Linked DNA regions of Homo sapiens: all the other regions are linked to region 1. Evidence: promoter capture Hi-C in human tissues and cell types (Jung and others, 2019). All regions are on one chromosome and are shown on one strand. The core of a region is centred on a gene start or on the middle of the fragment in contact, and the rest is flanking DNA. Distances in the headings are between cores, read along the strand shown.

What was found. Contacts are between HindIII fragments. The study calls those that stand out against the background at their distance.
Region 2: a fragment that was not itself captured here is called in contact with the fragment with the promoter of CDH22 in region 1 in 2 of the 25 tissues and cell types used here (dorsolateral prefrontal cortex and spleen).
Region 3: a contact is called between a fragment that was not itself captured here and the fragment with the promoter of CDH22 in region 1, in 1 of the 25 tissues and cell types used here (dorsolateral prefrontal cortex).
Region 4: a fragment that was not itself captured here is called in contact with the fragment with the promoter of CDH22 in region 1 in 3 of the 25 tissues and cell types used here (dorsolateral prefrontal cortex, hippocampus and pancreas).
Region 5: a contact is called between a fragment that was not itself captured here and the fragment with the promoter of CDH22 in region 1, in 1 of the 25 tissues and cell types used here (adrenal gland).
Region 6: a fragment that was not itself captured here is called in contact with the fragment with the promoter of CDH22 in region 1 in 7 of the 25 tissues and cell types used here (H1 embryonic stem cells, bladder, dorsolateral prefrontal cortex and 4 more).

The regions. Positions count from the first base shown.
Region 1 is chr20:46,305,592-46,310,162 of GRCh38, reverse strand. CDH22 (cadherin 22) reads left to right here and starts at 1,665. Exons shown (of 12, transcript NM_021248.3): 1 at 1,665-1,908. The HindIII fragment of the contact is 29,361 bases long and covers 1-4,571 here.
Region 2 is chr20:46,444,036-46,448,626 of GRCh38, reverse strand. It overlaps LOC105372633 (a long non-coding RNA gene), which reads right to left. Exons shown (of 4, transcript NR_146919.1): 4 at 3,656-4,591. Among named protein-coding and RNA genes, the nearest start is that of ELMO2, 40 kb to the right of the region's middle. The HindIII fragment of the contact is 7,481 bases long and covers 1-4,591 here.
Region 3 is chr20:46,144,844-46,149,646 of GRCh38, reverse strand. No RefSeq gene overlaps it. Among named protein-coding and RNA genes, the nearest start is that of CD40, 29 kb to the right of the region's middle. The HindIII fragment of the contact is 4,601 bases long and covers 329-4,803 here.
Region 4 is chr20:46,125,865-46,130,222 of GRCh38, reverse strand. It overlaps CD40 (CD40 molecule), which reads right to left. Exons shown (of 9, transcript NM_001250.6): 6 at 3,522-3,583; 7 at 1,999-2,085; 8 at 1,865-1,893; 9 at 365-1,341. The coding sequence ends at 1,183. Among named protein-coding and RNA genes, the nearest start is that of CD40, 9.7 kb to the right of the region's middle. RefSeq lists an enhancer at 154-303. The HindIII fragment of the contact is 3,703 bases long and covers 535-4,237 here.
Region 5 is chr20:46,473,517-46,478,029 of GRCh38, reverse strand. It overlaps a transcript of ZNF334 not described here. Among named protein-coding and RNA genes, the nearest start is that of ZNF334, 38 kb to the left of the region's middle. The HindIII fragment of the contact is 5,642 bases long and covers 1-4,513 here.
Region 6 is chr20:46,108,584-46,113,384 of GRCh38, reverse strand. No RefSeq gene overlaps it. Among named protein-coding and RNA genes, the nearest start is that of CD40, 7.3 kb to the left of the region's middle. RefSeq lists enhancers at 4,540-4,589, 4,670-4,801. The HindIII fragment of the contact is 5,271 bases long and covers 1-4,801 here.

The DNA.
Region 1 (4,571 bases), core at 416-2,915:
GCACACACCAGAGCCTGGAGGAAGAGGCAAAGAAGGAATGGGAACTGGAGCAAACAGCAAAAGTGAGTCAGAGCGGGAGGAGAGAACCAAAAGTGAAGAGATGCACCTGGAAGGCTGGCCTCTGGTCTCTGAAAGCATGAAAGAGTGGAGGCTAAGAATAGAGAGGAGAGGGGAAGAGAGAGATGGAGAAAAGGAAGGCGATAGAAAGGCAAGGCTGGAAGAGATCAATGAAGGGAAATAAACCAAGAGAAGGACGTAGGGGAGGGAACAGACTGGCACAGTGGAGAATACATCTCAAAATAAATAAATGAATGATGGAGTTTAGTAGGAGGGGCCAGAGGGGCAGCCAGCAGGAGAGGTGATTCCAATCATCAGCAAGACGGACTAGGGTGTGGAGATGGAGATGGAAATTGGGGAAGGAGGCGAGGAGGAGAGAAGGATAGGGGCGAGGTAGAGCTGGGGGTCCTGGAGGGCCCTGCCCCCTCTTTGCCATGAACTTCAGCAGCTGCTTGTGGGTGATTAAATGGCTGGTCATTGGCAGCTTGGCGGGACAGAGGTCTGCAGCTGTCCAGTCTCCTGTTATCCTTCACTCACCTATCTGGAAGCCATGGGGAATAGGGGGGCGGGCAACTCCTAAGGGGACCTACAACCCAAGACAAAGGGTGGGTCTATGGGAGTCACTGGTCCTATCCTACCATCAACGACCTCATATTGGGAACTCAGGAGTGGGGTGGGAGGGTCTCCTCCATTAGGCCTCATCCCAGAGAGATGAAGTAGTAAGGAGAGCCAGGCAGCCAGGAGAAAGAAACAGGGCCAGGTGGAAAAAACATCAGGGAGCAGACCAGCCGGATTTTTAAAAGAACGGAAAACCCAACCAGCAAGGAGTTTCTGGGCAGTGGGAAGATTTTATTGGGAGACTTCTCCAGGTCAAGGTGGCACCAAGTTAAGGATGGAGGTGTCTTGTTTTGCCTGCTTACTTTGTTGGTTGCAAGGATGTCCAGCGGGACTCTCCAGAGGAAAAGCCCACAAGTTTCTCTCCCGGGGACACCCGACCTCCCACCTGCCTGGAGACTCAGCCCTGGGCACCTGGTCGGTGTCCACCTCAATGCACAGTGACTGTTTCTGAACTGGCAGATCTGGTCTGTGCAAGGTGCCTTTCTGGGCAGCAAGCCGGGGCGGCCACTGTTCGAGAAGCCTGCTCCTACCCTGGCCTGCGCCCCTGCTCCTCTGAAGGCGGCCTCCCGCAGTAGTCAGGGGGCGGAAATGGGAAGCCCTATTCGCAGTAAAATCAGGTGGGGAAATAGGCTCTGGTCTCAAACTGCGGCCACCTGGGGAGCTGCCAGGCGAGGAGGTAGATGGTCCCCCTCCTGGGGGCGCTCCCTTCGCGCGGATCTGGGGTTGGAGGAGGGAGGGGCACTGTCCCCTGGGGGGTTTCCTGGGACTGGGCCGCCCGAGAGAGGGAAAGGCTGTCCCCTCCTGGTGTAGGAGGGGCGCGATCCGGGGGGCGGGGGCTGGGGTTCCCCGGCTGCGGGGGTCCGGGCCGGCGGCCGCCTGCGGCTTGGCGCTGCGCGGCTCCTGCCCGGCGGGCCCTGCATTCTCCGAGTCTCCACCAGAGGCTGCGGGAGGAAGGAAGGGATCCGTCCCTTGCACACTTCCCCCCAGTCAGACACGCACACTCCCTCGCTCCCGCTCGCTCGCTCACTCCCTCGCTCTCTCGCTCTCTCGCTCTCTCGCTCACACACACGCGCGCACACGCCGCCGCGGCTCCCCCTCTCGCTCCCGCTCTCCCTCCGGCTCCTGCGGGCGGCCGCGGGGCTCCGGACTCGCCCGCTGCCCGCGCCGGGGCTCCCGCCCCACGCAGCGTCCCGAGGCGGCAGGACTAGGGGGAGCCCCGGGCCGCTCCCCGAGGTAAGAGCGCGGGGTGCCGCGGGAGGAGCGGCCGGATCGCCGCCGAGGGGAGGCTGCCCGGCAGGGAGGGAGCCCCCTGGCCGGCGGGAGCGGCCGGGCAGGCGGCGCGGGGGGCGAGCCTCCAGCCGCAGGAGGAGCCGGGGTGCCTGCGCCCGGCCCTGCGCGCCCCCTCCTCTCGGCCGGGAGGGCGGGGAGGGAGTTTCCCACGTCCAAACTTTCCCCGGCGCGGAGCCGAGCCGCCTCTCGGCCCGAAGCCCGCAGCTCCCACCCGTCCCCACAACCTCGTCCGCCGCGCGCCCGGGAGCCTCCGGGACCCCCGCGGGCCGAGGGGTGGCAGCGCCAGGGGCCGAGCCGGCGCGCCAAAAGGGGCTGGGAAGGTGGCGCACAGCCCTGACGCGAGGGCTGGGACCCAGGCGTTCCCGGTCCCCCAACCCTGCTAGCGGGGCTCGGCTCCCCGGCCCCTCCCAGAGGCGGGGTCCGGGGCCGGGAAAATACCGCACGGCGCGAGCGTGTGCGCGCGGTGTGTGTGTGCGAGGTCGTGCCGCGTCCGGGGACACCCGGAGGCTGACTCCAGCCGCGGCGACACGCACGGTTCTGGTCCCCTCTGAGCCGGGGAGGCGGCCCACAGGGACCCCTGCCGGCCCCACCGGCGCGACCCCCCCTGCCCTATGGCCGTCGGGCGGGCTGGCGGTGAGCGAGAGCCAGCGCTGCTCTCTTCCTTAGGACCCGACTCCGGAGACACCGTCCCCGCTGGGGAAGAAGGACGGGGCCCCCGACAGCCTAACGTCCAAAGAGAGCGCCACTTAGGGCTAACCCTCGGGGGCCGCGGCGTTTACTGTGAAGAGTGGACTGCGTGGGCGCGCGGGGTGCCGGGCAGCCCTGGGTGGGCACAGTGTGGACCCGTCTCGCTCGCGCCTCCCCGCTGCCTCTTCTCTGGCAACGTCGGGCCCTGTCCCAGGCGGGGCTGCAGAGGGTAGGGCTGATCCAGGATCCCCCGAGGTCTCCCCGAGGTGCAGGGCACCCCCTTGTGGCGGGCAGAGAAGCTGCTGTTTGAAGCTGCTCAGGTCTTCCGAGGTGCTCGCTCCTTGGAACCTCTTCTCTCCAAACCCTTCGGGCGTCGCCAGGGTTGCGCATGCCAGCTTCTTTTTCCGTGGGGCTGATTCCAGCACTCCCCAGGTTTCTGGGGCTGGCCGAGGTGCCCCCAGCACAGGCAGCGGCTCATTTGAGGGCTTTGGCTGTTGCCAGCTCTCTCTCCCTCTCCACCCAGGTTCAGGATCTCATCCTCTTCTCCCACTGGTCAGCGCCAATACCCTATATCAGCATCACCACTGCCCTAGGGCCCAAAGGCTCCTCCCTAACCACCGCGACTCTCTGTCCTTCATTTGTATCCCGTATATGTGTCCATCAGTGCCCACTCCGTCCCCCTCAGTTGCCCCTAGTCTACAGCCCTTGTTGAAACTTGGCCTCTACACCCATAGTGACATCCTTTGGTCTTTGCCCACCAATGACCATTTCCTCGTCCCCCCCAACCCCGACCCATCTTCTATCCTGTCTGCCTCAGTTTTTCTGTAGCACTCAACTGTTCCCTGCCCCAGCCATTTCTCTACTTCACCCTTATTTCCCTCCTTGTCCCAGTGTCTGGGACACTCCTCTTCCATTCCTCCTGGAAGGGAAGGGCATTGCCAACATTTAAACACTGCTTCCTGGAGATGTCTGTGTGCCCTTCCCGGTCCACCACTGCCAGTGCCTCGGGGGCAGGTACTTTATAAAGCCAGCCAGGTCTCTCTCAGCTAAGGGGCACCTGTACCTCTTGGGTGGCCCCATCAGGGGACCCCTGGAGACAACCCCTTTCCCTATTCCTAACTGTGAGCAGCACATTGGAGACCACCTGGGCTGCCCTCTTTTCCATTTTCAAGGATTGGCAACAGCAGCCCGAGGTCACATGGTAAGCTATACCCAGAGCCGGAATAGGAACCCAGGCATCTTGACATCCAGGCCTCACCAACGCTGCTTATGTGTTGGGTAGGCCTGGGGCAAAACAGAGCCGTTTCTTGGCTTCACGCTGCAGGCAGGACAAGAAGACACTTGCTCTAAATTCAGCATGAGGTGTTCAAGTTAGACCCCCAGTGCTCCCAGGCCAGTGCCGGAGGAAAGCTGTTGAATGCCTTTAGCAGAGACGCCGAGTAGCAGAAGCAGAGGACAAAGTTTGGCCCCTAAAAGTGTGTTGTGACCTCCGGGTGAGTCACAGCCTTTCTGTCAAAAGGGTGGCTGTGATCTCTGGATGTTTCTGGTCGTGCTCTGGAATAATCATACCTAGAGGTTGGAACCCCCAAAGCCCCTGCTGCTTCCCCAGGCACTGGTCTTTCTGAGAGCTTTGCAGGAGCGCTGCATTCTGAAGTTGTCTGACAGGGGGCCGGGCCATAGCTAAGGCAGGGAGCCCAGGAGGGCCCGTCTCCTCCCGAGTTGGCAAAGTTCGGAGCAGCCAGTTTATTTACCACATGGGCGATAAGAGTCAGCCAATTAAACTTCCTCTCCTCTCTCTCTCTGTTCTTCCCCCTCCCCTTTTTCTTCCATCAGGAAGCTCCAATCTGAAATGCAGCCTCAGGTAGAGTGAGAGAGAGTGAATGATTTCTGTTTATATAACACGGGTAGCAGCTGGCACT
Region 2 (4,591 bases), core at 735-3,234, 140 kb before region 1:
GCTCAGGTAAAGTTGAATGTATCCATTCAAAAGAAGAAACAACACTGCACTCCAGCCTGGTGACAGAGCGAGACTCTGTCAAAAAAAAAAAAAAAAAAAAGAAAAGAAGAAGAAGAAGAAGAGGAAGAGGAAGAGGAAGAAAGAAGAGAAGAAAAAGAAACAAATGTCAGATAATCTCACCTCCCACAAATAATAACATTTAATATGGTTGTTTTTCAAATCTGGAATTATTAAAGAACTATGTCTTATGATTATCCCTTCACTCAGCAATATACTTTTATAATGTAACTGTCTCAAATGTCTGTAAGACTCAGGAAAATAAGCTCCCATTCAGAAGCACAGTAAACATAAATATATCTAGGATATAAACAGGCAATTTACAGAATGAGAACTCTCAAAAGCTAACACTCATATGAGAGGTGCTCACAAATGTTAATAATCCCAGAAATGCAAATTGATGCAAGAATGAGATATAATTTTACACCTATTATATTGGCAAATATTAGGAAGTTCAGTAAAACTGAGTGTTGCGGGGGTATGAGGGTACAGCAACCTCATGCACTGACCTCCTAATTGGACAAATTGAGGAATCCCACAGTGAGTACGGCTTAATGGAAGACAGGCTCCAGCTTCCACCAGGGATGCTGCAGAATGCTGTACATTTCCTTTCCACACCTGCTGACAGGCAGGGCTGGGCACACTCCCTGCGACTGGCCACTTAGGTGAGCCTCCCTAAGACTTTGAATCAGGGGCTAAAGGTACAAAGACCCGAGAAAAGTTAGCGATTCTTCTCAGAAGAAGCAATGGACTCCAGCGCCCAGCAGTATGACTTTGGGTGTCCAGTGGTGTTTGTGCCTGTGGCAGAGTCCTCCCAGGACTGCTTCCGTGCATGCCTTATCAGTGTTCTTCTCAGCTTGGAGACCCTGGGTCCCCATCCAGCAGTGCTTGGTTCTTTAGCTTTCAGGAAGATAGAGCAGACACGCTTCTCCCTATTCCTCCCAGTAAGGACAACTAAAAACTCTGAACATTTGGGAAACTTTCAGCCATTATTTCTTTGAATACCTTTTCAGCCTTGTCTTCTTTCTCTTCTCCTTCTGCAAGTTCGATGACACAAACACTGGACCCTGTGATAGTCTCACAGGTCCCTGAAGCTCCATTCATTTTTTTCCATTTATTTTCTCTCTGTTTTTCAGTCTGGGTGATTTCTCTAGTTATAGTTGTCAGTGCAGTGATTTTTTTTTCCTCTGTCTCCTCTATTGGCTATTGAGCCCATCCATTTATTTTGATTATTGTATTTTTTCAGTAGATTTAGTTTGTATGTAAAGCAAGTATAAAAATATTCTGAAAAGTTGAGAAAAGAAGGCAGACCAGCTAGGAAACTTGGGACCGCATAGTGCATTCTCCTGGCTTTCATTTTGCCTCATATATCCCAGACTTAGAACTGAAGAAGCTCGCGACCTGGAAATTCTAGTGTTTGAGATGGGGGGAAAAGCCCCATCAAAAGCCTACTCCCTCTATACAAAGCAAAAACAAAACAGAAAGCAGAAAATGGGCAGCCTTACGAGACAGAAAACCTTGAGACAATAACCTCTCTACTCCAGCCGAACACCACAGAAAGACTGTGGCCCTACCCACACTCACACAAGCAAAGGCAGAGGTGGAGATCCTAGAATTCCACCCACACCAGGCTGTAAAGAGGCACCCCAACTCTCCCCATGGGCTCCCTGCAATATCAGTGAAGACAGTGGGGGAGTCTGGACTTCCACTCCCATCCAGCAGTCATGAGGTGCCCCTCTCTGCTCTGCTGGGGCAGTGTACCAGAAAACCCAGAGGGGGATCAGGACTTTCACCACCAACTAGTGGTAATGAGGCCACCACCCCTTGTGTCAGTGGAGGCCCCTTGGGGAGCAGTCATGAGCCGCCCCACCCAACTGTCCCCCAAGTCAGGGAGGTCTTAGTAGAGGCCTAGGGAGAAGCTGGAATTCCCATTCCCACAACCAGTAATAAGGAGAGAAAAGAAAGAGGGTGAAACGGAATGAAACATCAAGGATGAAATGGGATATCACTACAGGCTCTGTGTACATCAGAAGGATAGTAGGGGAATACTACAAACAACTCTACCCACATAAATTTGACAGCTTAAATTAAACAGGCCAATTCCTCAAAAACTACAACTCACCCAGTATGAAATGGAATTTTAAAAGTTGAATTTGTAATTTTAAAACTAAAATTTAAAAACAGCTCCTAGACCAGGAGAGTTCACTGGACAATTCTACCAAAAGTTTAAAAAAGAATTAACACTAATTCTACAAAATCTCTTCCAGAAAATTGAAGATGAGAGTAGACTTTCCCATTTATTTTATGAAGCTAGTACTAAATCTGATACTCAAACCAAAAAAAAAAGATAGTACAAAAAACAAAAGACTAATATCATGAATATAGATGCAACATTTTTTTAAATTAGCAAGTAGAATTCAACAATGTAAAAAAAAGTATACACAATGACGAAGTTGAGGGCGGCTTGCCCTGGCCTGTAGGTGCCCCTTGCTGTGAGCAGCCTGGGTGCCATGTGCAGTGGCAGGAGGCAGATGGGCTCCTGGGCAGAAGGGGGCAGGTCCCCAGTGAGGCCCCACCTTCAGGCCAGGGAGGGCCTGAAGGCTGGCGTCGGGCTGCCAGCCCCACAGACCAGAGTGGGAGCTTGTGGTGCCTTTTCTGGGCCTGCCCATGGACCAGTTGGCATACACTTTCCCCCCTCTGAAGCCCATAATACCCCTGCGCTCAACCAGAGCTGAGCAGACATTAGGATGACCAACAGCAGAGAGGAGCTACCCACTCCAGGGCCTCCTCTCTGCTGAGAGCTGCAGAGACAATGTGACCACCTGCATGCAAAGAGGAGCTTCCCACTCCAGGGCCTCCTCTTTGCTAGGAGCTGAACACTCATCAGGACACCCTGGCTGTGGAAAGGAGCTACCCACTGCGGGTTTCCTCCAAACTGTTCTGTCGCTCAGTAAAGCTCCTTTTCATCTTGCTCACCCTCCACTTGTCTGGGTACCTCATTCTTCCTGGTTATAGGACAAGAACTTGGGACCCATTGAATGGTAGGGCTAAAAGAGCTGTAACACAAACAGGGTTGAAACATGCCCCTTGCTCACTACATTGAGGGTGAAGAGAAAGAAAGAATAGCTATGGCCCTTCGGGAAGCCCAGACCTGGGAGCTCCCCAAGCCAGGGCTATGACTCTTTCTTGGGAGCCCTGTGGTTCCTGGCATCTCCAAGCCTCCAGGCACCACTTTGTTCCCCAGTACCAGCTGTGGAAGCTGCGTGCAGTGTGCCTGGCTCAGCCACAGCCTCACAGAGGACTAGTGCCTGTGCCAGCACCTGGAGCTGCCCACCCCACTGCAGCAGCTGACATGTCTGACTGCACAGTGGCCAGACCCCACGCTCACTCACACACCCCTTGCCACTCCATGCCTGACTTGCCTTTGGCAGACATGGGGTCCAGGCTGGTAGCATGAGCTGAGCACAGCCTGCCAGGCCGAGTGGGCGGAATGAGCCCAGTGAGCCCAAACAAAACTTGGGCAAAGGCACCACTGGCCACAGAGGTTTCTGGCCAGAAAAGCAACACCCCAAAGATCTTGTAACACAGCGAAGCTTACTGCAGGAATGCAGGGCAGTTTTACTATTCACAAATCAGTCAACATAATCCAACATACTAACTGGATACAAAAGAAAATTGATCTTACCAATCAATACAGAAAAAGCATTTCACAAAATACCCATTCATGGTTTTAAAAATGCTCAGAAAAAGAGAAATAGAGGGAATTTGTCCTAACTTGTTAAAGAGCATCTATAACAACTCCACAGCCAGCATCATACTTAACAGTGAAAGACTGAATGGTTGTACCCCTGAGAAGAGGAAAAGGGCAAGGATGACTGCTCTTACCATTATTGTTAAACAGTGTTAGAAGTTCTACCCAATGCAATAAGGTAAGAAAAGGAAATAAAAGGCATACAGATCAGAAAGGTAGTAATAAAACTGTCCCTATTCGTGGATAACATGCTTATCAAAGTAGGAAATCTCAAAGATCTACCAAAAATAAAACAAAAAACAGAAACTCCTAGAGCTGATAAGTGACTTCAGCTAGACTGCAGGAATATGTTGTATTTCTTTATACCAGCAAGGAACACATGGGCACTGAAACTTAAAATACAGTAGCACTTACAATTTATCAAAAACCAAAGTACTTAAATTTAAATCCAACAAAACATGTATGGGGCTTGCATGCTGAGAACTACTCAGGTTTAAATTGTAAGAGATAAAACTTTCAGAAAAAAAAAACAGAAAATATTTGGGATCTAGATAGTGAGGCAAAGAACTACAAAATGCTGATGAAAGAAATTTCAAAAATCTAAAAAAATGGATGAACATACTTATTTATGGATTAGAAGACTTAATATGGTAAAGCTGTCAATTCTTCCCAAGTTGATATAAGGATTTAATGCAATTCTTATTGTTACAGGGTAACTGAGTTCTACTGTAACACCTAATTGGGAAAAAAGGCAAGCAGGTTTTATTCCTGGCCAGGAATGGA
Region 3 (4,803 bases), core at 1,380-3,879, 160 kb after region 1:
AGCCCACGCCTGCGAGAGATCAGAATTTGAGGTAAGCCATGAATTTGGAGCGCCCTCACAGTGAACCTCAAAATCTTGGAGTATCTGTGAGCTTATGTACGGGGGTCATCTGAATCTGGATGTGAACTCACATCCAAGGAATGGGGTCTGTTTGGGAACCCAGTTTATGGGGGCCACACCAGTCCTAGAGGTGTGTTTGGGAAGGACGCGGGCCTCTCAGGGCAGTAAGGAGTGACTCTATGGCAGATCCCGAGCAGCTAGTGAAGACCCAGTTCCCCATCGTTTTGATCATCCTGCACCCCTCTTTCAATGCACACAGTCCTCATAACCTTGGTCTCACCACTGCCCACCATCCTGTCCTCCCACCCCCAGGTCTACTCTGAATTGCTACCTCTCAGGGAATTACAGTTGCTGAACTCCAAGTCTCAGGTGCGCTCACATTCCTTCCCTGGGGCAAGAAGAGTCAAGGGATGAGGGGAGAAAGAGCCCGCCATTCCCTCCTCCTCCGACAGCGTAAATCCTCCCCAAATCGCCCTTCAGGGCCCAGGAAAAGCAGATCCGATTCTTGGGGAGCTTGGAGGCCTGCTGCCTTATCTAAGTCTCTGGAACAAGCATTTTGCATTTATTTCCCCAAATGTGTTGCCGAATTGCGTTCCAGCCCATGGCTCCCAGCCATCTGCAGAGAGAAATCCAGTTAGACCTTGTATAATAAGTTCCTGACAATCTTGCTGAGGATGCTGGGTCATAAAAGTCTCCTGGTTTTATCGCCGGTAACAGACACGGAGTGAAATTGAGTTGTCTTATCAAATTTAGATAATATATATCCCTCTAGAGTAGCAGGCTCTGCATGGGGCTTTCATGGTATGAGCCCAGGAGGGGGATAGGGAGTGGCAGAGTGTTCCTGGGGATGTGGCTCAGGGTGGGGGCCGTCCTGGAAAGCCTGGCAGGACTGACAGGCAGCAGGGTAGGGTTACTAGCATCCCAGGTTTCGATGTCAACAAGACCTGGATTACAAACCTGTGTCTATCATTCCCATGCTGAGTGAACTTGGAAAATTTACTTTACTGCTGAGGGCCTTGGTTTCCTCATCTGTAAAGCAGGCAGATGCCTGCCCCCTTGATTATTGTGAAATGTAAACAAGATGCTACATGCAACAGGCTTAGCCCAGTGCTTGGCATGTAGTGAGCACTCAATACATGTTGTCTGTGGACTGGACATGGCAGCTCACACCTGTAATCCCAAGGCAGGAGGATCGCTTGAGGGCAGGCAGGAGGATCGCTTGAGGCCAGGAGTTTGAGACCAGCCTGCACAACACAGGGAGACTCTGTTACTACCAAAAAATAAAAATACAAAATTAGCCAGGCATGGTGGCCTGTGCCTATAGTCCCAGTTACTAGGGAGGCTAAGGCAGGAGGATCACCTGAGTCCAGGAGGTCAAGGCTGCAGTGAGCTATGATCACACCACTGCACTCCAGCCTGGGTGATACAGCAAGACCTGTCTTAAAAAAAAAAAAAAAAACTCTGTAATTTGGGAATGGGAGAAAAATACTCTCTGGTCCATTCTCTTCCCATTTTACCGGTGGAGAAACTGAAGCTCAGAGAGGGAGTGGACATGGATGGTGGTCACACAGGCAGGCGGGGTTCTCAGTCTCTGCTTCAGGGCTGAGCAATCCCAACTGACTGCCCCCGCAATCAGGCCTTCTGCAAGAGGCTGGAAGTTGCCCTTTCCTGCCTCTGCTTAAAGTCCTGCCATCCAGTGCCTTGCCCAGGAAATGGACATACACGGTAGGAAGCCTGGGTCCCTTGGCTCCAGGAATGGACTCTCAGGACATTGCCAGTGCCGGGCTTCTCTAGGGCTCCCCAGCTGGTCCTGGGAAGCTTGTCTCACTGTCCCAGGAGGGGACGATCGTACCAGAATTGACCTACTTTTCTCCCACAGCCAAGATGCCTCTCTCTGGCAACTTCACACTTTGGTTTACATACCTCCAGTGATGTAGAGATCGTTACCTTACCAGGCAATCATTCCGTTTCCCTATCTTGGACTTAAGACAACCCCAAATCTTCTGACTTCCAAGCTAAGACTCATTCATTCTAGAACCACACCCTGCCACCACAACTTTCTTTCAGCAAGGCCTGAGTATGTGTGAGCCTGCCTGTGTGTTGGTGGGTTTCTCTGTGTGTTCCGCACTGTGAGCTCTGAAGGGAGAGGAAATGAACTGGTAACAGTTCTGTATCCCCAGGACTCAGGGCCTGGCACACAGTAGGCACTCAAAAAAAAAAAAGAAACAGTCACACAATAGCTAACCTTTACTGAGCACTCCGTGTCAGGCATGAATTCCATGTGCTAATTTATTTAATCATTATAATAACCCTGGGATGCAGTTACCATTATCTCCAGTTTACAGAGAGGCAACCTGAGGCAGAGAGAGGTGAGATAACTTGCCCAAGGTCACACAGCCAAGACACGGTAAAGCCAGGATTTGAATGGTGAGAGTCCAGAGCGGTTATTCATACCTCCCAGGTGAAGATTATTTGGAATTAAAAAAGGGAAGGGGAAAAAGGAAGGGCAGACCCAGGTAAGTATCTCTGTCTCCCCCAAATAGCCCGGCTTCTGGAGGGCAGGAAACATATATTACTCATCTCTCTCTCTCCCAGAATCTAGTACAGTGCTTGGCAAACATTAGTGGCCAGTAAACAAGAAATGTTTATTGAATGAATGTTTAAGCCAGGCATGGTAGCTCACACTTGTAATCCCAGGACTTTGGGAGGCTGAGGCAGGAGGATTGCTTGCATCCAGGAGTTCGAGACCAGCCTGGGTAACATAGAGAGATCTTGTCTCTACAAAAAATGAAAAATTAGCCAGGCATGGTGATGCACACCAGTAATCCCAGCTCCTCAGGAGGCTGCTGGGGAGAGAGGGGTCTCAAGGCTGCAGCAAGTCGTAATCGTGCCACTGCACTCAGCCTGGGTGACACAGTGAGACCCTGTCCTCAAAAAAAAAAGAAAAGAAAAAAGAAAAAAAATCACACATGAATGTTTATACATCATAGGCATATTTTTCTCCCCCACTATCCCTAGAGCCCTTGAGGATCAGGAACTGAACTATCTTCATCTCTGTAGAGCTGCCACTAGCCCATTCTGTGTGAATTAGAAAAAGGTACCCCCTCTGGGCAGGCAAAATCCTGTGGATTCAGCTTGGCAAGCTAATGACCCGTTGCGCAAAGAAAATAAAAATCCCCCTTGCCTGGTGCCAGGGGTCCCAGGTTGACAGGGGGAGCCCCCACTCTCCTGCAGGTGCACCTTTGTGCAGCACACAACTTGAAAGGCTGTCCATGGAAATTCTGCTATGGCTTCCAGGGGCCCAGCACTAAGCCTGACCATGCAACAGGCATCGCGTTTGTTGAACGGCTGTTTGCAGTATTCACCTTTCTTCTACCCTATTTCACCCGCAGCCAGTCTGAGCCCCAAGAGAGTGATTGGTGGAAGAGCCACCAGCTGGGTATGATGTGGCCACAGTGCTGATGGGGGAGTTCGCAGACGTAAAAGGGGACAGGCAGGGTCAGGCATAATTGGTAAATATTTGTCTATCTAATCAGAGGGCCTTTTAATTAGCAATTTCATCCTTGCAACTGGTTTATTTTTTTTTCTTTCTGCGGGAAGTCAATTAAATGTAACAGATGGAGGAAAACATGGGGGTTTCCTTGTCTCCCACCATCTGTCCCATCCCATTCCACCCCCAGCTGTGCCCAAACCTCATTGGTGGGGCTGCCTGCCAGTTGCCAGAGAAGGGCAGTGCTAGGGGACATAAACAAAGGCAGGATTCCTGACCCCCGGGAAGCCCTCTTTGGTCTCTCTGGCCACCCTACACATGCAGGCTGATCCTGCCTGCACAGCCTATGACTCCAGGGTCCTAAGATCCTTTGCCAACAAGGTATCTCTTTCTGCCTGATCCAGTAGTATAGGGTCTGGTTGCCTTTATTTGAGCTCCCATGACAGGCCTGACAAGGGCCCGCATGCAGAAGAGACTCTTGTCTAGCTCAACAAACCTTTATTGAGGGTCTGCTTTCTGCCAGGCAATGTGTTGGGCGCTAGATACATAAATCAAATAGTCCCGGCCCTGCGGGAGTGTGTAACACATTGGGGAAGACGTTTTTCCATTCATTTATTCTTTCAATATTTATTAAACAGCATGTGCATCAAGCTCTGTGCTAGGCCCTGGGGACGCAATGATGAATCCAACAGGTCCCTGACTTTCAATAACTCAGTAAGCAGAGGACACAGGCCAGTAAAGTCATGCATTCAATACGTATTTATTGAGTGTCTGTGTGAGCCAGGCACTCTTCTGGCTGTTGGGGACACAGCAGTGAACAGCACAAAGTCCTTGTCCTTTCTAGTAGGGGGAAAGACAATCAACAGATGGATGTATAACGGCAGGGGTGATCCGTGATGTGAAGAAAAAATAGTCAAACAGCCATCATTTGGAGTTGTATGGAATCTTTTTTTTTTTTTTTTTTTTTTTTTTTTTGCGACAGAGTCTCACTCTGTTGCCCAGGCTGGAGTGCAGTGATGCAATCTCGGCTCACTGCAACCTCTGCCTCTGGAGTTGAAGCGATTCTCCTGCCTCAGCCTCCTGAGTAGCTGGGACTACAGGGGTGCGCCACCACACCCAGCTAGCGTTGTATGCAATCTAACTGAGCTCTGCAAGTATCCAGATTCCTTGGCATGGCCTATGAGGGCCCTGATCCCCAGGCTCCGGCTTTCTCTCTAGGACCGTTTCTCAGCACTCACCACCTTCTGGGCTGT
Region 4 (4,358 bases), core at 1,137-3,636, 180 kb after region 1:
CAGACAGCAGGCAGATCTGGGAGGAGCTCAGGACCCAGAGTGAGGAGCTCTGAGCATGGCACCACCAGACACCGCTGTGTGACCACAGGCAAGTCACTTCGCCTCTCTGGACCTCATTTCCACCTCTGTAAAAGAGGGAGGGATGCAGACCCACCCTGCTGGGGAAGGCTATTTTTGTGAACATGAATCAAATGGGAAGAGCACTTTGCAATCTCAATACCACATGTGAGCACACATGGAAACCACCCTGGAGGGGCAGCAGCCTGGGGACATTCTTATTTATCTACAGAAAATGCCCTCATTCCGTGAGCCTGACAGCAGGTTAAATAGCTCATGTCACCCAGCATGTTCACCCCCGTTTTTCTTTTTACATGTTTGATGATTTTTTAATTACATAAGCATTATGTGAATTCACTCTCCTTTTGGGAAAAATGATGAAGCATTATGGGAAAGCCAAATCTCCCTTTAACCAACCCTCCCCCAGACCCTTCTTCCCCACCCCAGACGTCACCACTCTTCGAGCTGTGGGTTTTCTGTGTACCCTTCCAGAACCCTTGTTATATCAATATATGATGCATATTGTATTTATACATATATCCATAGGCAATATACATACATAAAAGCATGTACTTTTTTAAAAAGTTCCATACCCATCATTCAGCAGCATGCCTTTTTTTCCTTACTCAACAGTGTTTTTGAGATTCTGTTGTATAAATATATTCTAATTTTATTTAGCCAGTCTCCTGCTGATGGACAGTTAAGCAGCTTCCAGTTGTTCACTATCACAAACAATGCTGCAATGGGCATCTGTGTATATGGCTTCCTGGGCGCAGGGAAGCCACCATGATGCCTCTCTGGGCACCAAACTGCTGGATCGGAAGGTCTGGTGGATATTACTAAACCATACCCCAACACCACCACCACCAAACTTCTGCCTCTGTCTTTAATACAAGTTGGGAGACTGGATGGGCTCCAGGGTGAAGTGAGAGGTTCTTCAAGGTGAACTGTTTCTGCATCCAGTGCCAGGTCTCCTGTCTCAAACTGCAGGGGTGCAGGCAGAAGCGGGGAGCTATGCCCAGTCAGTGCCAGCCCCTCACCCTCACGCCACAGCAGCAGCAGCACCAGGCTCTCTGGCCAACTGCCTGTTTGCCCACGTGGCCACACTCCTGGGTGGGTGCAGCCTCACTGTCTCTCCTGCACTGAGATGCGACTCTCTTTGCCATCCTCCTGGGTGACCGGTTGGCATCCATGTAAAGTCTCCTGCACTGGAGCAGCAGTGTTGGAGCCAGGAAGATCGTCGGGAAAATTGATCTCCTGGGGTTCCTGCTTGGGGTGGGGGGCCTGGAGAGGCAAGGTGTGAGGTCACCCCCAGCAGCAGGGGCAGCTGTGCCTCTGAGGAGCCCCTCCCTGGGAAGCGGATCCCTTCCCCAAGCCCTCCCCCCTTTCCCAGACGGCGGGTCAGTGCTGATTCCTCGGGTGCCTCCTGCCCCCTGCTGGCCACACCAAGGGCGACGAAGAGCTTCCAGAGTGGGAGCCAGTGGGCTTAAGGGGCTGCCACATTTGCTCCCACCCATTTGACCCAGCCCCAAGGCCCAAAGATGCAGCTCCCCACGCGTTGAATGCCAGGAAAGGAGTGAAGAACAGCCAGTGTTAGGCTCTGCCAGTGGTGCCAGGGGCAGTTCTGTGGGGGATTGAGCTCTGGATGGAAGGAGCATGGTGGGTGGGGATGACAGTCCCCAATTCTGCTGCCACCCCACTGGCTGCAGAGACAGACTCTGAATCAGTTTTACTGCCCCATAGGCAACCGTGAGGCCATCTTCCCAGTTTGTCAAAACTCTGTCCCGGGTTCTCAGGGGTGACCTACCTTATTGGTTGGCTTCTTGGCCACCTTTTCTAAAAAAAAAAAAAAAAAAAAAAAGGATGGGGAGTTGGAGAGGCCAGATAAGAAACAGGTGGTCTCCCCTCCCTCCCCCAACACCTCCCCACCTGAGGACTCACTGATAAAGACCAGCACCAAGAGGATGGCAAACAGGATCCCGAAGATGATGGGGATCACCACCAGGGCTCTCAGCCGATCCTGGGGACCTGGAGAAATCAGGACTTCAGCATGCACCCCTCACCTGCAGTTTCTCCCTACCCTCAACCTGCTGTGACTTGTCAGACTCCAGAATCTTCCAATGTCAGAGCTCATCTACATCAGAAGGTTCAAACCGCGGTCCTTGGGGAAATGTGGCTGGCAGATGTCTTTAAAGGAGCCAGAACATTTTCTTAACGTTTGGAAATATTTGCCGACATTTTTAAACTGGGAGATCACATATTCAAACCTAGACATCTGATTTCTCTTACAAACTGGGAAGACTGGGTTCCAGTTGGCAGCCTCCCCACCTGGGAACCATCTAGAAGCGAGTGGTGGCAGTGGCTGTCACCACCTGCTCACCATGCTCCCCGCCACTCCCTGCTCTCTGCCCAATGCCGAGGTCTAGCATGATTCATGTCTGCATGTTGCTTTTGGTATAGAAGAGTGGAGGGGAAAGGTAAAGTATTTCTCATGCCGAATTTTTTTTTCAAAGTGGGAAAATAAAAGAAAGACCAAAAGGCAGGGCGGAGACTAGCGTGAGGCAAGGGATGAAATTGTTTCAGGACAAAATTGAAAAGGATGTCCAAAACACTCAGTCATCAAGGTAAACATTCTTTTAATGCCATATTTTGAAAATCATCAGGCGGACACCAAGTCAGCAAACTACGGCCTGCAGGCTGGCTGCCTATTCCTTTTACTGGAACCAGGGCCAGGATTAGGGTGAGGTGAGTGAGGCAGGGTCATGCAAACACAGGGTCGGATCCTGTTCTTTATTTAAAATGTTGCTATCTTGCTCATCATGGATTTCTTTGCATTAATTTTTATTTTTAAAAATATTGCATCAAAATGAATTTACCTTGATTACTACACTTTTATGGCACCTTCTTAAATATTGCGCCCGAGGGCAAGTGCCTTGCTCACCTCATTCTAGTCCCAGCCCTACAAAGAGGAAAGTACATTTTGAGAAAAAGCAAAGAGAATGTATTTTTCGTTTTTTTAAATTTTATTATTATTATACTTTAAGCTTTAGGGTACATGTGCATAATGTGCAGGTTTGTTACATATGTATACATGTACCATGTTGGTGTGCTGCACCCATTAACTGGTCATTTAGCGTTAGGTAAAGAGAATGTAATTTTCTTACCCCTGACCTTTTTCACTGATTTACATTATCTGATCTTTACTGTAGGCCAACCTTCTCACTCTAAAATCAAAACCTACTAAGGAAGTGCTGTTATCATCCCATTTTACAGATGAAGAAACTGAGGCTAAGAGAGGGGAAGTGATTTGCCCAGACTCCCAAGATAAGTGGCAGAGCTGTGATACCACACCCCCAAACTGCCTCCCCTCCCCTTTTTCCCATCCAGTGTTCCTGTGTGCCTCATCTCCCCCTTCAGTTCCCACCTTCCTAGGCTTTCTCCAGGGCCCATTGTCCAGGACTCACCACAGACAACATCAGTCTTGTTTGTGCCTGCCTGTTGCACAACCAGGTCTTTGGTCTCACAGCTATGCACAGACACGTGCACAAATGCACACACACAGAGAAAGAAAGAGATATTAAGTTTCCCCAAGCATAAGATTTCCAACTCTAGAGTGAGTCAGTCAACAATCAACAAATCCAGGTTCACTGAGCACACAACACGTGCAACGTCCTATGCTGGTTATTATAGGAACGACACAGACTCTTCTTACAGAACTTAAAAGTGCAGAGAAAAGATTCTTGCACATCTTGAAGGAGTAATAAATAGGGGAGTCTATAATGAGTGCCAAGCTTTGTGATCTAGGTAGGCTAAAGTGAGATGGGAATGGTTCAGAGGAGACAGAATCCACCAAGGCTGGAATGGAGAGATGATGAGTTCAGCTTAAGATAGGGTTACTCAACGTCAGCACCAGTGACACTTGGGCTGGATCATTATTTACTGGGGGTGTGGGGGTGGGGGTGGGCTGTCCTATGCATTGCAGATGTTCAGCAGCATCCCTGGCCTCTATCCGCCAGATCCCTGTAGCATCCCCCTCTCCGTTTGTGACGAATGAAATGTGTCCAGACATTGGCAAACGTTCCACAGGGAGCAAAACTGCCCCCTGTTGAGAACCTCTGGTTTAAGGTTCTTCCAGAAAGACTTCCCTGAGGACATATGACCTGAGTGGGCCCTAAAGGATGTAAAATTTGGATCAGCAGTGCAGTCCCGCTAAGTGGGACGATGTGATGTGGGGAAATAAGGCAGGTGGCATGCAGGATGGTGTTAGGAAACTATGGAAAATTGTGTCTTTAGAACCAGAT
Region 5 (4,513 bases), core at 557-3,056, 170 kb before region 1:
AAATCAGATAATTTAATTTCTCAATCAAATGACTATTTCAGAATAGTCTGTTTTAAACATGAAGATGTGAAATGACCTTGGAGTGGTATGATTATGTTTTCTACCATCATTTGTAGCCCAGTTATACCGAAAGATATTTACATTTTTGCATACACTGTGGCTATTTTAGCAAGCTGCAGGAAGATACTGAGTGCTAAGCATGTCCATATTCATGATCTCATTAACTGACACAGCCACCCTAGAGGGAATTATTCTATTGCAATCTTCTTATTTTGGGGTTGAGAAAAGGGAGGATTAGAAAAATAAGCAATTTTGCCCACAGTAACACAGCTGGTGAGGGATAGCACTGAGCTCCATCCTCAAATCCATCTAACTCTAAAAGACCAGGCTCTCGGCCAGCCATGGCGGCTCATACCTGTAATCCTAGCACTTTACAGGGCTGAGGCAGGAGGATTTCCTGAGGCCAGAAGTCTGAGACCATCCTGGGCAACATAGCAAGACCTTGTCTCTACAAACACTTTTAAAATTCCAGGTATGGTGGCATGTGCCTATAGTCCAGGCTACTTGGGAGGCTGAGGTGAGAAGATCACTTGAGCCCCACCATTTGAGGCAGCAGTGAGCTATGATCACATCACTGCACTCCAGCCTGGGCAATAAAGCAAGATCCTGTCACGTGAAAAAAAAAAACCAAAAAACAAAAAAACAGGCTGTTAGGCTCTTTGATGACATAAACCTAGCCAAAGTGTGGATTCCTAAAAAGGTGCCTTCCTCACCTGCTGCATTTACTTATCCAGCCTCATCAACCACCAATTCCCTGTACTCTCCTATTTTTCACATTTTAATCTGTGCAATTATCTTTGTGTTATTCTCTCTCCTAGACTCTGTTTATGGAAGCAGAAGCTGTACCTTTTATCTCTTTGTATTCAAAGCCTTTAGCTCTAGTGTCCAGCACTTAATATGCCGGAAAACAGGCATTATTTTGAGAGTCTCCTATCACGCATCCACTGTACCAGCATGAATTATTTTATTTCAGTATCTTGAAATCCCATCGGTGTATGGGATTATTTTATTATCTCATTTCAATGAGTAGAAAATGCAAACATTATTTTTCTAAGATCACATGGTGAGACCGTTTGAATCCTGATAGGATATATCCCAAAGTTGTCTGAACCCAGGACTGGACGTCTTAACATTGCCATAAAATTCTCCATCATTATAACTTATGGAAAGGCAGAAACCATGATAAATGCTTAATATAAACAAGCTTTATCAGCTTGGATAGTCGCCTAACCTTTATGTGACTCATCTTTAAAATGAAGGCATTGGGTTCTTTCACACTTTTTTGTCAGCAGCATAATACAAGTATATGGTTCTGCAGGTATAACCTGAGACTGCACATATAAAAAAGAAAGACATTAAATCTAACTTCTATTTTGTATAATTGACATTTGTATTGAGATAATTGTAGGTTGACATGCAGTTGCAAGAAAAAATAGAGCCCTCATATACCCTTTACCCAGTTTTGCCTAATGGTAACATCTTGCAAAATGATAGTACAATATCAAAACCAGGATATTGAGGTTGATAAAATTCTCCGATCTTATTCATATTTCCTTAGCTTTACTTCATTTGTATGTGTGTGTTAATTCTATACAGTTTTATCACATGTAGGTTCTAGTATTCACCACCATTGTCATGTTACAGAACACTGTCATCACCTCCAGGATCTCTGGTGTTACCCACATTAACTTCTTCAATAACCACACCCACTGCCTCCCCAGTCTCTCTCCTGTCCCAGGTAACTACTAATCTCTTCTCCATTTCTAAAATATTATCGTTTCAAGAATGTTATATAAATATTATCATGCAGTATATAACTTCTGGGATTGGTTTTTATCATCAACATAATTCCCTGGAGATTCATCCAAGTCACTATATGTATTGATAATTTGCTTCTTGTTATTGCTGAATAGTATTCCGTGGTATGGATGTATGCCATTTGTTTAAAAGGCATCTGAGCTGCTTCCTGTTTGGGGCTATTACAAATGAAGCTACTATGAAAATTAGTGTATAGGTTCTTGTGCTAACATATGTTTTTATTTTCTGGGATAAATGCCCATTAGTAAAATTGCCAGGTTGTAGAGGAATTGCACATAAGAAACTGCCAAACTATTTTCCAGAGTGATTGTACCATTTTACATTCCCACCAGCAATGTATGAGTGATCCAGTCTCACCACATCCTGGCCAGCATGTAGTGGTGTTACTGTTTTTTATTTTAGCCATTTTGATAGGCATGTAGTGATATCACACTGTGGTTTTAATTTGCATTTCCTTACTGGCTAATGATGTTGAACACTTTTCATGTGCTTATTTTCCATCTGTATATCCTTGTCATTGAAATGTCCTTTCATGTCTTTTTCCCACTTTCTAATTGGATTTTTTTTTCTTTTTTTGCTGTTGAGTTTCGAGAGGTCTTTGTATATATTAGATACCAACCCTTCGTCAAATGTGTAGTTTGTAAATACGTTCTCCCACTTTGTAGTTTGTCATTTCATTCTCTTCACTTGTCTTTCACAGAGCAAAAGTTTTTAATTTTGATGAGGTCTAATTTATAAATATCTTCTTTTATGGATCATGTTTTTGTTTCCAGTCTAAAGATTTTTATTTTTTCCTAAAAGTTTTATAGTTTTACATTTATGTCCATGATTCATTTTGAGTTCGTTTTTGTATAAAATTTGAGGTTTAAGTCAAGGTTTGGTTTTTTATGTCTATGGATGCCCAATTGCTCCAGCACCATTTGCTGAAAAGGTTAGTTTTTATTTTTAAAATGAATGATTTTGTGATTTACTCCATATTTATATTTTTCATAGAATAGTAATGGCTTTTATTATGTGACATTAAGTACAATTTATCCTCCAAGGAGATATGCCAAGTAAATCCTGTGGTTTCCTTTACTTGTTGGAATAGACCCACAGTTTCCTTAGGGCATGTAAATCACAGGGTGAGAATAAGTACTGGATGATACTGGAAGCTCCTGTCAACTTTGATAATCTATCTGTGCCTCTGTTTCTGTTCCTTTCTGTCCCTTCACCCCCTCTTCTCTTCTCTCTGTCTCTCTCACTAAACTACCATTTATTGATGGGGGTTATCATAGCTCCTAATTTAACCAAGGTGATAGAAGCTTATGCCAATTGGTGAAATTATTTGCACCCTGATTTGCCCCCAAAGAGCAATACATTATGCAATTATTGTATCTATTGAAGACTTTGTCTGTTTAGCATTTTGCTCTTTATACTTCACATACTTTACACTTAGTCTTAACAATAATTCTTTGTTCTAGATTTGCTTTAGCCCCAACATGCAAAGGGAGAATTTGAGCAAAAAGACTTCAAGGCATCTTGCAGAGGTGGTAGGCCTCTATATAAGACTTTAAACTCCTACAGATGTGGATTTGGATCAGCATGATCTGATTATTCTGGCTATTGACTCCTCATCGGTCTACATGGTGGCCATACATTCTGGATATAGGTGAGTATATACATATATATAATTGTTTACTGATGTTACAATATATTCAAATTCTTCTCCCTAGTTAGCAATGTGTGGTTCAGTGTGCTTTGACTCTGATTTCCATTTTTTTTTTTTTTTTGAGATACGGTCTCACTCTGTTGCCCCAGCTGGAATGCAGTGGCATGGTCTTGGCTCACTGCAACCTCCACCTCCCACCTCCCGGGTTCAAGTGATTCTCCTGCCTCAGCCTCCCAAGTAGCTGGGATTACAGGCACATGCCACCACACTCAGCTAATTTTTGTATTTTTAGTAGAGACGGGGTTTCGCCATGTCAGCCAGGCTGGTCTCGAATTCCTGACCTCGTGATCCACCCACCTCAGCCTCCCAAAGTGCTGGGATTACAGGCGTGAGCCACAGCGCCCGGCCTTGACTCTGATTTTCACAAGACTCACCAGTGCATTTAGCATCCCTCAGAAGAAGTAATTGATGAGCTTAAGATCTGGAGAGTGCACAGCCAATTCCACGTGGCCATATCACCCAATCCATCTTTGAAAATTAATCATCAAACCAGTCCCTCTGCATTCTGGCATAATGGGGTCACATACAATCCCAATATACAATCACGTACAATCTCACTTTGGGTGACCTTCCCCTACCCTGTCAAGTGCAGGTATTAATTGATTATAAAACATGCTCACATAAAGTAAATATTTACTCATGTTTCCCAACTTTATAGCCACCCTGTACATTTGTAACTGGTTTGTCTTCCTCACTAGAATGTACACTCCATGAGGGAGCAGGATTTGTCTATCTTGTTCATTGATGAATAAATCCTTAGCAGCTAGGAGTCTGTATTTAGATAATATGTTCTCCATTTTTAAATGCATGATTGAAATCTGGGAAAGTGAGGACAGGAGGGGATGAAGAATAAATGATCTTGAATGGGATTGTTATCAAACTGAAGGAAATAAAAGGATAGTTTGAACTGAATCATAAGAAAGA
Region 6 (4,801 bases), core at 965-3,464, 200 kb after region 1:
CTGGAGGGAAACTATCTGGCTCCCTAAAATACAGGGTACAGAGGACCTGTTGGCTTTGGCTGTGGGCCAGCCATGTGGCTGATTCCTAAGGAACAAGGAATTTGCACTCAATCGCCTTTGGATCAGGCCATCCCTCACTTCTAACTTGAATTGTGGAGAGGAGGAACAGTGCCTCCTTTATCTTCTTAACCTAACACCCACACAGAGTCTGAACACCTGCCAGATGCTGAACAGGTATTTGTTGAATAAACGCAGAACTATAGAGTAATGAGGCTGAAGGGATCCCTCAGACCCACCTGCCCATTCCCACACCGTCCTGGGTAGCAGCCCATCTCCATAAGATGACAGGGCTCTCTAGCTGGGATTCCCAGGCCTAACTATGGACAAAAAGCTTTCCCTTTAGCTCACCAGTATCACGTGGGAATTTATCAAAGGGAACTAAGAAACTCAGAAAAGAACCCAAGCAGAAATTTGGAAAACCCAAGAGCCGGCAAAACAGATGCGAGAACAAAGCAGAGAATGTCTTGATCCTTATCTGGTTAAAGCCACTTACTCGGCTGATCTGATCCCCGCACAATGAGGCCTGGAGCCTGGTCCTCAGCCCTCCCAGACTCTGATGTTTGGAAGAAGAGATGCTTTGGTTGCAGGGGAAAGGATCCAAGTTTTTACTGTGACCTCAAGAGGCTGCGTGACCTGGCCATTGGCAACCTTGGTTCCCACCGCAGAGCTTTGGCTATGCTGCCCCCTCTGTCTAAAACGCCCCTCCTCCCACCTTTCATCTGCTGACTCTTCCTCACCATTCATGTCTCAGGGTAAGTGGCCCCTCCTCAGAGAGGCCTTCCCTGACCATCTTATCTAAAATGAGTTTCCTCTGCTACCCACCCACCTCCCCCGCCACTGTCCTCTCTTGTAGCACCTGTTCTAATCAGAGTTGTCCTTGCAAACAAGAGAAGATGTAGCAGTGAACTTAAATAAAAGAGGACACTATTGAAAGGGTGTTGGGCAGCCCAGAGAGCCGACAGGAAGGCTCAAGGGAGGCACCCAGGCAAAACCACAGGAGGCAGGGAATAGATGAGACTCTGCCACAGAAAAGTTCTATAAACCATCTCTGTGCCAGCCTACCTCCAAGACAGCCCTCAACAATCCCTACCTCCTGGTCTTCACACCCTTATGTAGTCCCCTTCCTTATTGTACCAGGGTTGGTCTGTGTGACCAACAGAAACCAGCAGAAGTGAGTGTAGGTCACATCAAGGTTAGGTTACAAACCCACTGAGGTCAGGTGCAGTGGCTCATGCCTGTAATTCCAACACTTTGGGAGGTCAAGAAAGGAAGGATCACTTAAAGCAAGGAGTTCTAGACCAGCTGAGCAACACAGCAATAATTCATCTCTACAAAAAAATTAAATAAAAATAAAAGGACTGAGGCTTCCATCTTATGTGTGCACTGTCTCACTCTTCTTTTTCTCTCTTCTCTCTCTTCTTTCTCTCTCCCTTCTCTGTCTCCTCTCTCTCTTCTCTCTCTCTTCTCTTTTCTCTTCTCTCTCTCCTTTCTCTGTCTTCTTTCTCTCTCTTCTCTCTCCTTTCTCTCTCTCCTTTCTCTTCTCTCTTTTCTTTCTCTCTTCTTTCTCTCTCTCCTTTCTCTCTTCTCTCTCTCCTTCTTCTTTCTCTCTCCTTTCTCTCTCTCTTCTCTTTCTCTCTCTTCTTTCTCTCTCCTTCTCTTCTCTCTCTCCTTTCTCTCTCTTCTCTCCTCTCTCTCTCTCTCTCTCCCCTCTCCCCCACCCCCTGCACTGTCTCCAGGCCCTCTGGGGAAGCAGCTGTCTGCCATGTCGTGAGGACACTCAGCACTCAGGCAGCCTATGGAGAAGTCCATATGGCAAGGATTCAAAGCTTCCAGCCCTCAGCCACATAGGAAGTGAAAGTGGAAGTGGAAGTGGAAGTGGACCCTCCCGCAGCAGTCAAGCCTCATATGACTTCAGCCCCAGCTGACACATTGATCCCAGTGGTGATCTAATCAGAACCACCCAGCTAAGTTGCTTCTGGATTCCTAACCCACAGAAACTGTGAGATAATAGATGTTTTCTTGTTTCAAGCCACTAAGTTTCAGGTCAACCTCTTACCCAGCAATAGATAATGAACACAATCTCTAACTACCCCTGAACTTGAGCATCACTCCTTCGAGGTTCAAAGTCTTGGGAAAGGAATCAGAGTGGCCACACTTGGCTTACAACGCACATTCTATGCCTCCTTGGCTTCCTTGTCAAGCCTCCTGCCCTCCTTCCCCTCAAGTAAGAAGGGTACACATCCTGAACATCCAGAACAATCCATCTGCCCTGCAATGTTCCCTCAGAACACTCGGCACAACTTGTTGTTCTCTATGCAGGATGACATTTTTCTCCTTTCCCCTTGCTCTTCCTAATTTTGGGCACACACCAAACGTAAGAACCAGAGAGGGCAGATAGTTTTTGGCCCAATAATGCAGGGAAAACATCCTCAAAGTTCTGATTGCCTTAAAAATGCCAGACCGTGAAGAAAGACCCATTAGAAGGCAACTTCTGCCCAGTGAATTAGCTGGGGAAAAGAAAAAAGCACTTTGAGAATCAGGATCTAGAGATACAATTCTGTATATTTTCATGCAGCCATAGCCCAGTGAGTAATCGAGACTTTCCCACTCAAGATAAATATGAAACAGGCGCTTTATTACAGACCAAAAAAATCCATGGTCCCATCTCATAATGAAATCAGCATTTTGGTTTGTACATTTGCGTGTGCCACCTTTTAATCCTTGCCTATAGGGACCTTCAGATTTTTCTTTCCAAGGGATATCATAAATAGATTATCTATTTTACATTTTCCTATAATATTAGACCACGTATATTATTTCCACCTTTATAAACTCCTATTTTTATTTTTTCTTTTCTTTTCCTATTTTTTTTATTGGAGACAGGGTCTCACTCTGTCACCCAGGCTGCAGTACAGTAGCACTATCATAACTCACTGCAGCCTCAAACCCCTGGACTCAAGTAATCCTCCCGCCTTGGCATGTATTTTTTTTTTCTTTATCTATCTTTACACCTCTCTCCCCATAATAGCCTGATAAATATCTGTCTACACATTTAAGAATATATTTGTTCATTTAATAAGAAAAGGAATCTCTATCTTTTTTTGCAGTCATTTTTGTCACTTAATAATATATCATGGAAATAATTCCAGGTTAGTAGATACAGATCGTACACATTCTTTCTTTAAAATAATTGTGTAAGATTCCATGGTGTGGACTTGTCACAATCAATTTAACCATTTTCCTGTTGATGTACATTCAGGTTGCATCCAGGTTCTCTCTACTGCAAAGCAGGCTGCAACAATGTTTTTACACGTATGGTTAGGCACGTGTGTTTTTATTTCTATACAATAGATTTCTAGAAGGAATTTGTGGGTATTTATATTGTAAATGCTAACAGATATTTTAAAGATACTTTCCAAAAACCTTGGGAAATTCATATGTTTGAAGGGACCTTTACTCTGCCTTCTCCCCAGTACTAAATGTTATCATTCATTTTAATATTTGACCATTTGATGGTGAAGAGAGAGATCTCTTTGCTGCATTTATTTACATTTCCTCAATTATTAGGGAAGTTGAGGATCCTATCAAATGTTTATCAACCATTTGGATATCCTCCTCTGTGAACTAACTGTATATATCCTTTGTCCATTTTCTATTAAATTGTCTGTTTCATATTAACTTTATTCAATCATGTAGTCACTCAACTAATATGCATTGAGCACTTACTAGGTCACGTGAACTAGACAAAATCCCAGCCCTGAATATTAACCCTTTACTCTGTCATCCATGTTGAAAATCAGCTCAGATGTCTAATTGTATCTCCAGTCTCTCCTCTACAGATAGGCTCTGGTACAGCAGTCCCCAACCTTTTTGGCACCAGGGGCCAGTTTTGTGGAAGACAATATTTCCACGGATAGAGGGGTTGGGAAGGATGGTTCCTGGTTTTGGATAAAACGGTTCCACCTCAGATCATCAGACATTAGATTCTCATAAAAAGCACGCAACCTAGATCCCTCACCTGCGCGGTTCACTATAGAGTTCGCAGTCTCATGAAAATCTAATGCCATCGCTGATCTGACAGGAGGCAGAGCTCAGCCTGTAATGCTCGCTAGCCAGCCGCTCACCTCCTGCTGGGCGCCCGGCTCCTAACAGGCCACGGACTGGTACCGGTCCACAGCCGGGGTGTTGGGGATCCCTGCTCTGGTAGATTGTAGTCATTATGCTTTCAGGTTTTATGATGTAAAAATACCTAATAATACCTAGTACTAGCACCGCTAGCCACTAATTGGTTAGAGCAGAAAGAGGACTTAATCCAATCCCCATGTAGCACCTTGTTGGTACTCCACCCTCAGGCCTTCCATATTCACTGTTCCCACTCTTCCTGTCCCCTATCTCAAGCACCTGTGACCTTCTGCCCCAGAGCCTTTTTTGGCCACAAGAGCATGTTTAGCCCTTCAGAGGGCAGGCCAGAAGGGCTGGAGATAATGCAGCCTTCTACCAATGACAGATGAGGAGTTGGTGGATCAATGCCGCAGCTGCCTTTCCCCGCAGCTGGGATAACTAAAAGGTATGTGTTCTACACTGTCTGTCCAGTCAAGGTGAAGCCACAGTTGCCCACTGTGTAACCTGCTCATTCACCCACCCTGTAATGGCTTCCTTCTCCTCTCTGTCTCAGTTCCCCATTACCCCATCAGTGCTCCCCGGAGTCACCTCTCAAAGAAACTACTTGCTACTTGCACTC